Regions from separate parts of the Homo sapiens genome. Here region 1 is linked to region 2. The links are contacts of gene promoters, found by promoter capture Hi-C in human tissues and cell types (Jung and others, 2019). All regions are on one chromosome and are shown on one strand. Each heading gives the region's core, a stretch centred on a gene start or on the middle of the fragment in contact. The rest is flanking DNA. Distances are from core to core; before and after follow the strand shown. Region 1 has its middle 73 kb from the start of NBPF3. Region 2 holds the start of EIF4G3 (eukaryotic translation initiation factor 4 gamma 3).

Region 1 (4,430 bases), core at 1,536-4,035, 190 kb after region 2:
ATTACACCCCCCACCACCAATGCATTACGCTGTTTCAAGTCTTCCTAGCTCTTACCACTTCCTGAACTTGTCTTATCTTTGTATTTGTTACTCCTTTAATGTCTCAATCTATCGTAGATCTTGAGTCCCCATGAAGGCATAGGTCATCTCTGTCCTGGTCACAGCTAAGTCTCCAGCACTAGAATGGAGCCTGGCACATAGTAGGTGCTCAGTAAAAGCTTGCTGAGTCAACAATGGGATACCACTTCACACCCACTAGAATGGCTATAATCAAAAAGGTAAGGAGATGGAGCAATTAAAATGTTTATATATTGCTGGTGGTAATGGAAAATGAGGCAGACACTTTGAGTTTGTCAGTTCCTCAAAAAGTTAAACAGAGTTACCATGTGACCTAGCAGTTCCACTCCTAGGTATATACCCAAGAGAAATGAAACTATGTCCACACAAAACATGTTCATGTATGATCAAGCAGCACTATTCATAATAGCCAAAAAGTAGAAATAACCCAAATATCTATCAGTTGACAAATATGTACATGAAATGTTGTACATGGCCATGCACAGTGGCTCATGCCTGTCATCCCAGCCACTTTGGGAGGCAGAAGCATGAGGATTGCTTGAGCTCAGGATTTCAAGGCCAACCTGGGCAACACAACGAAATCCTGTCTTCACAAAATATACAAAAATTAGCTGGGCATGGTGGTGCATGCCTGTAGTCCCAACTACTCGGGAGGCTGAGGCACGAGAATTGCTTGAACCTGGGAGGTGGAGGTTGCAGTAAGCTTTGTTTATGCCACTGCACTCTAGCCTGGTCAACAGAGCAAGACCCTGTCTCTAAATAAATAAATAAATAAATAAATAAATAAATAAATGCTGGCTGGGGATGGTGGTTCATGGCTGTAATCCCAGCACTTTGGGAGGCCGCAGGTGGGAGGATCACTTGAGTTCAGGAGTTTCAGAACAGCCTGGGCAACATAGAGAGATCCCATCTCTACTTTTTTTTTGAGATGGAGTCACGCTCTGTCGCCCAGGCTGGAGTGCAGTGGCACGATCTCGGCTCACTGCAAGCTCCGCCTCCCGGGTTCATGCCATTCTCCTGCCTCAGCCTCCCGAGTAGCTGGGACTATGGCACCTGCCACAACGCCCAGCTAATTTTTTGTTTTTTTAGTAGAGATGGGGTTTCACTGTGTTAGCCAGGATGGTCTCGATCTCCTGACCTTGTGATCCACCCGCCTTGGCCTCCCAAAGTGCTGGGATTACAGGCATGAGCCACTGTGCCCGGCCCCCCATCTCTACTTTCAAAGAATTAGCTGGGTACGATGGTGGATACCTATGGTCCCAGCTACTTGGGAAGCTGAGATGGGAGGACTGCTTGAGCCCAGGAGTTAGAGGCTGCAGTGAGCCATGATGATTCCACTGCATGCCAGCCTGATTAATAAAGCAAGACTGTCTCAAATTATAAAAAATAAGAAAGTTGTACATCATTATAATGCAATATTATTCAGCAACAAAAAGGAATGAGGCACTGACATGCTATGACATGTACAAGCTTAAAAATCATTATACCAAATAAAAGAAGCCAGACACAAAGGTCGCATATTGTATGATTTCATGTGTGTGAAATGTCACAATAGGCAAATACATAGAGGCAGAAAGTACATTTGTGGTTGCCAGGTACTGGAGGGAGGACGGATGGGGAATGACTGCTAATGAGCATAAGTTTCAGGGAGATGATGAAATGTTCTGGAATTAGATAATAGTGATGGCTGCACAACTTTCTGAATACATTAAGAACCACTGACTCGGTTCACTAAGTTTTATTGTATGTGAATTATATCTGTATTTTTTTTTTTTGAGACAAAGTTTTGCCGTTGTCGCCCAGGCTGGAGTGCAGTGGCGCAATCTCAGCTCACCACAACCTCCGCCTCCCAGGTTCAAGCGATTCTCCTTCCTCAGCTTCCCAAGTAGCTGGGATTACAGGTGCCCACCACCACGTCCAGCTAATTTTTGTATTTTTAGTAGAGATGGGGTTTCCCCATGTTGGCCAGGCTAGTCTCAAACTCCTGGCCTCAGGTGATCCACCCGCCTCGGCCTCCCAAAGTGCTGGGATGACAGGTGTGAGCCACCACGCTCGGCCTGTAACTGTATTTTTTAAAAGCCTTGTTATGCCTCTAATCTCAGCACTTTGGGGGGCCGACGTGGTAGGATCACTTGATCCTAGGAGTTTGAGACCAGCCTGGGCAACATAGCAAGACCCCATCTCTACAAAAATAAAGTTAACTGGGTGTGATGGCGAATGCCTGTCATCCTAGCTACATGGGAGGCTGAGGGGGGAGCATAGCTTGAACCCAGGAGGTCGAGGCTGCAGTGAGCTATGATTGTGTCACTGCAATCTAGCCTGGGTGACAGACTGAGACCCTGTTTCAAAAAAAAAAATCCAAAACAAAACATCTTGTACACAAATGTTTACAGCAGCATTATTCATAATAGCCTAACGTGGAAACAACCCAAATGTCCATCCGCTGATTAATGGAGAAACAAGATGTGGTCTATCCACACATTAGAATATTATTCAACCATAAAAAGGAGTGAAATACATATACATGCTACAACATGGATGAACCTGGAAAACATACTAAGTGAAAGAAACCAGTCACAAAAGTTTACATTTTGCATTATCCTATTTATACGAAATGTCAAGAATAGGCAAATCTATACAGACAGAAAGGAGAGGAGTACCTGCCTAGGCCTGGGAGTGACTGCCAATGGGTACGAGGTTTCTTTTGGGGTAAAAATGTCCTGAAATTGGGTTACAGTAATGGTTGTATAAATCTCTCTACATACTAGAAATCATTGTATTAGGCCGGGCGCAGTGGCTCACGCCTGTAATCCCAGCACTTTGGGAGGCTGAGCTGGGTGGATCACAAGGTCAGGAGATCGACACCATCCTGGCTAACACGGCGAAACCCCGTCTCTACTGAAAATACAAAAAAAAATTTGCCGGGCGCGGTAGCGGGCGCCTGTAGTCCCAGCTACTCGGGAGGCTGAGGCAGGAGAATGGCGTGTACCCGGGAGGCGGAGCTTGCAGTGAACCGAGATCGTGCCACTGCACTCCAGCCTGGGCGACAGAGCGAGACTCTGTCTCAAAAAAGAAAAAAAAAAAAAAAAGAAATCATTGTATTGTACATTCTAAATGAGTGAACTTTTATGACATATACATTATATCTCAACAAAGCCTTTTAAAAAGTTTATTGAATGGGCTGGGCGCAGTGGCTCACACCTGTAATCCTAGCACTTTGGGAAGCTGAGAGCTGGGCGGATCACCTGAAGTCGGGAATTCGAGACCAGCCTGGCCAATATGGCGAAACCCCAGCTCTACTAAAAATACAAAACTTAGCCGGGTGTGGTGGTGCGTGCCTGTAATCCTAGCTACTTGGGAATCTGAAGCAGGGGAATTGCGTGACCCCTGGAGACGGAGGTGGCAGTGAGCTGAGGTCGCGCTGCTGCACTCCAGCCTGGGCAACAGAGCAAGACTCCATCTCAAAAAAAAAAAAAGTTTATTGAATGAACGAGGAGAAGATAAAGTGGAAGGAAGATAAGGAGGGAAAACAGTTGAGAAACTGCCCTAGGTCTGGACAGAGCTGATTCCCTAAGACACCCCCGCTGGGAAGCCTGGTTCACCCTTTAGTCCCCTCCCTTCCTTCCTTTCTTCCTTTCTCCTCCCCTCTCCTTTCCCACGGTCTGTGATTCTGGTGGAAACTCTGGCCCAAGCTGGGCTGGCAGGAGGAGCCACCTGCCACGGTGCACGGCTGTCCCCTGGTGGCGATCTAAAGTGAAGACTTGGGAATGTGGTCAAGGTGGGAGGCCTGGGAATGGGGATTATTAGAGAGCTAGGGAAACCCTGGTGAATGAAGGGTGAAGGAGCAGAAGAAACTTCCAGAAGCCTGGAGACAGGGGAACGCCAGGGATGGAGCCCTGTGACACTTTGCTAAGCTTCTGAGGTTGATACTGGGATTCTGATTATTACTGTGCCGGTCTCCACGTCTGTTTCCTGTCTCCTCCGGCAGTGATGTGGGCACCAGGAGGGAAGGGGTGTGTCTGCTGATGCATGCTGCCTCCCCAGCACCTAGCACAGTGCTTGGCACTGAGTAGGTGCTCACTAAAAATATGTGGACTGCAGTTGGTTATAGTAGGAGGAACAGAGAGAGAAGCCTGGGCTTGAAGCCAGTGTTCATCCTGTCAATCCAGTGACTTGGATAAGTCCTGTGACCCTGGTGAGCCTGAATTGGCTCACTTACCTGTGTTGTGGGGAGAATAACCCTTCTCTCTCAGAGTCATAGTGAATTTAAATGATCACATTTGCATATAGCTTCAGGCTCATCCTAGGAGCTCCTGGCAGCCAGGAATGGTAAAGAGGCACCACATCCTACA
Region 2 (4,259 bases), core at 1,724-4,223:
TTTAATCAATACCCCATTACCAGTTGATAACACTTCACCACTGGTATGTCTGATGAAATCTACAACCTATACTTCCTTTACTGTTTATATAATAAAATTTTCTATTTTAGCAATTGTAACCTTTCAGTGTGTAAAAGCAAAGAGAAAACAATAAGAGCTGTGAAACACATCAAGAGGAAGATTAATTTTAGCTTCAATGGCATGAGGCAAAGTAAAAACTTAAAGCCACACAAAAGTAAGTGTTCCATATGACTAAAATTGGTTTAAAATTATCTACACTGGAACTTACACTTAAATTTATCTCTTTAACAAGTGCTTTTTATTCAAAAGAAAATTAAGTTTCAGCTTTTGTAACTACTTGAATGTTGCAACCAACTCAGAGCTTTTATAAGTCCTTCTATGAAATGCACTGAGAAAAAGCATACTTGAAACACAGCTGTATCCCAAAAAGCCACCCAATTCACCAAACAGTGTCACATTCAGCACTGTGGTCCTTACTACTCTGTACATCAAGGACACCTACTACAGGTTTCCTTTTATTTCTGTTCAATTGCCAAAACAGCTCAAAGATGCAGGTAATGAGTAATTTACGTGGTAGCACAATTCAGAAACTTAAAAGTCCTAACCGAGTATAGGCAATCAAGGTAAAAAATGAAATTAGAAAGGAATTTAAACTCACAAAGTAGTAAGCAAAGACAGGTTTAAAAGATTCAACACTGAACTCTGCCTTTAAGTAGGCAAACCAGCCAATCTTCCCCCACCCCAGAGACACTGAACAAAACCAACCAGGTTTTCCATAAGCAACGCTAAGTTATCACCACACTTTCTCATCGGTGAACAATTCCTAATTGAACAGAATCATGCAGGATAAAAACATTATGAAATCAGTACACACGTCACACTGGAATGGAATTTATCTTTACACTGCACCGCGGTGCCTGGATTGAAAATCACGAACTAGGTTTAAAGAACAGAGAAAATGACACTTGGCAGAAAACAAACAATGACCTGAAATGACTCTAGAAGGGAGATTGCTTTCCCTTCTCAAAGTAATCTATACAGACAAGAATCAAACTACAGACTGTGAAATAATCTGGGGACCTCACAGCAGTTAGCTTCTTACTTGCTCAAACATCCTACAATCTCTAAAAGTCAAACGCACGATGACACAAACATAAAAACACAACACATCTAACATCCAATCATTATTTATTGATTTACACAAATACAGTGGGTGTAGGGAGGAGGTGATGCATGATGAAATGTTATTCTCAGGTACGCAATACCTTTCTAAATCTCCGTGGAATACATGAATTCAACGTTTTACCTTCACCGGCTAGTTTTTGACTAAAATACCCCATCACCAAGTCTTTTCAATCAAAGCTCTCCAAAATTCTACAATCGAGCAAATAACATGAAATTAGAAACATTCAATACTAGACTTTCCTCCAGAAGCCCTGGTAACTCTCTAGACATCAGGCCTATGAGGAGTAAATTAAAGCCCATTAAAAATATTCAGCCTAACACAAATCTTCCAAGAAGTGAGACTTTTGTGGGTGATGGGTAATGTCGGTGAACTTCCTCTTCCTTTAAAAAGGTCAAAGACAGGGAAGCGTCCGGCGTCACATTTCCTCCTCAGATCTCTACCACAAACCACATCACAACTCTCCCATTACTAAAAAAAATTATCCAGAGGAACTGCTTTCTGTACATTTTCACCTTAGACTGAAAATCCAACATACCTCGGAAACGAGCTGATTGGTTTCAAACAAGAAATTTACCGATAAAGTTTATTATGTACTAATAATAATTATGGAAGCCCACTGTGTCCCGCTGTAGGGGGAGCCGAGGGGAGGTGAAGAGCAGGAGGGTGTAATCCTCACAACAACCAGAGAAAAGCCTTCCCTGCAGGGTTGGTCCCAGGCACCAAGCAAATTCTGCCCAATAAAGGGGGGGAGGGTACCTTAGGGGAGGAGGGGAGAAGGGACCCCAAGCTCTAAAAGGAAGGGGCTGCAGAAGCATGGCCAAGTGGGGCTAGCTTTCACAGTATTGCAGAGGGTCTGGGGGTCCCCCCGCAGTGCTGCTGCCGGGGCACCCCAAAAGCTCCGCCCAAGCCCGATGCAGGGGCTTGAGCCGCTGTCCCTTTCCTGGCTGGGCTGTGGCGGCCGGCAGGAGGGTCCCCTGGGCTGCGGGGTCCCCCTGGACTGCGACGACGAGAACCGAAGGGCCGACAGGAAGGTGAAAAGGATACTGTTGGGGCGCCTGAGTCTGGAGGGCCCTGATGTTCGGGTGAGGAGGGGGGACCGCTGCCGCCGCCGCCGCCGCCGCCGCCGCCGCCGCCGCTGCTGCCGCCGCCGGGTGAGGAGGCGGTACCGCTGCTGCCGCCGCCGCCGCCGCTCCGGTGCCGGGTCCGGTTCCTGCTGCAGTCGCTGTGCCTGATTTCAGAGCCGGTTTCTGCGGTAAACTCATGGCAAAGCGAAGCCACCAACCCCCCCAGAGCGGGACCGGGCGCGCCGGGGTGCAGGGGCCGGGGGCAGCGGGGGGGCGGGATGGGGGCAGACCCGGGGAGGCGGCGGGAGCGGGGGGCTGGGGGGAGCCTGGGGGGAGGAGGAGGAGGGGGCCGGGGCCGGTCACACACGCCCGACGCCGCCGCCGCCGCCGCCGCCGCCTCCGCCGCCGCCGCCGCCGGCAGCAGCAGCCGCCCCGCGGGCCAGCACCACCGGCTGCCGGTCTCCGTGACAACGCGACCCCAGGGGGGGGGCCGGACCCGGCGGGGGCAGGAGGCGGAGAGACCGGACCTTTCACGGCAATATCCTCATGGGCCGGCGGCGGGGGATCTTTATCCCCCTCCCCGGAGGAAGCGGCGCCCTTCTCGGTAGCGGGGCTCAGGCGATGCCGGTGGATTTTCTTCACTCAACGAGCAGAGCATCCAACATGGCGCTGTGGCCGCCTCCAGCAGTCCGGCAGGACGGCTGCTCGGAAAACTTCGGACTTTTTCGGAATGGCTCGGGAAACCGAGGGTGGGAAGCCTCTTCGGCTCTTTCCGGAGACTGCTAGGGGTCGGGATTCTTCGGAGACGCTCGGGTGCGTCCTCGGCCGCCGTTCGGGAGGGCTCAGGGGCTAACTCGCTTCCTCGGCAAAGATCGGCGAGGGAGGCTTCGCTGGCTTACAGCGGCGCGGGTGCGGGGCGGAGGGAAAGACCAAAGGCGAGGTCTGGCTTGCGAGAGTCCTCCCCTGCGGCCCAGCCTCGAAGAACAATGGTAATGGCCCCGGAGTCGGCTGTTCGCTGAGCCCCGCTCGCAGGGGCGGAGAGGCAGCGGCGAGGCGAAAAACCCCTGGAGAAGGAACCGCTTAACCGGAATGGAACCCGTTGGATAGGGACCCCCCGCGGGGACTTCGCGTAACCAATGCCACCCGCCGGCCTGTAACCCACGCATTTCACACCCATTGTGTCGACACTTCCTCAGACGCTCTGAGAGGTGAATGAGGAGCCCCATTTCCAGAGGACACAGAGGAAAAGTGACTAGCCCAAGGTCACCCTATCGGGAAAGGACAGAGCCTAAATCTAAATGCCACCTTCATCTGGATGAACCTTGCCGCCTCCCATATTGGCTGGGGACATGACCTGAGCCGCCATATCTAATCAGCAGCCTTAACTGAGCTCTGTGGATGGATTCAAACCTAGGCCTTCCCCAGGACTGGAGCGCCCTTTGACCAGCAGCCAGTGATCAGCTCCCCAATGTCCTATGCTGGGTGACATTTGTTGATAAGGATTTTCTTCCCAGCTAGACCTGCCAAGATCACTCCCACCCCCAACCCCGCACACCCCACTCCTTAGCAGGTGCCTTGTCCTAAGCACAGTGGCATTGAGTGGGAAAGAATGGCAGGCATCGGCCGGGCGCGGTGGCTCACGCCTGTAATCCCAGCACTTTGGGAGGCCAAGGCCGGTGGATCACTTGAGGTCAGGAGTTCAAGACCAGCCTTGCCAACATGATGAAACCTCGTCTCTACTAAAAATACAAAAATTAGCCAGGCGTGGTGGCAGGCACCAGCTACTCGGGAGGCTGAGGCGGGAGAATCACTTGAACCCAGGAGGCGGAGGTTGCAGTGAGCTGAGAGAGTGCCATTGCACACTAGCCTGGGCGCGACAGAGTGAGGCTTCGTCTCAAAAAAAAAAAAAAAATGGCAGGCGTCATGGAGCAATCAAGTTTTAATATAATATTTACCAGACATGGCACTAAGCGCTGTACCCTTCATTA

What was found. Contacts are between HindIII fragments. The study calls those that stand out against the background at their distance.
Region 1: a fragment that was not itself captured here is called in contact with the fragment with the promoter of EIF4G3 in region 2 in 2 of the 25 tissues and cell types used here (dorsolateral prefrontal cortex and mesenchymal stem cells).

The regions. Positions count from the first base shown.
Region 1 is chr1:21,364,856-21,369,285 of GRCh38, forward strand. No RefSeq gene overlaps it. Among named protein-coding and RNA genes, the nearest start is that of NBPF3, 73 kb to the right of the region's middle. The HindIII fragment of the contact is 6,019 bases long and covers 1-4,430 here.
Region 2 is chr1:21,173,924-21,178,182 of GRCh38, forward strand. It overlaps EIF4G3 (eukaryotic translation initiation factor 4 gamma 3), which reads right to left and starts at 2,974. Exons shown (of 37, transcript NM_001391906.1): 1 at 2,799-2,974; 2 at 2,252-2,435. RefSeq lists an enhancer at 2,889-2,938. The HindIII fragment of the contact is 22,917 bases long and covers 1-4,259 here.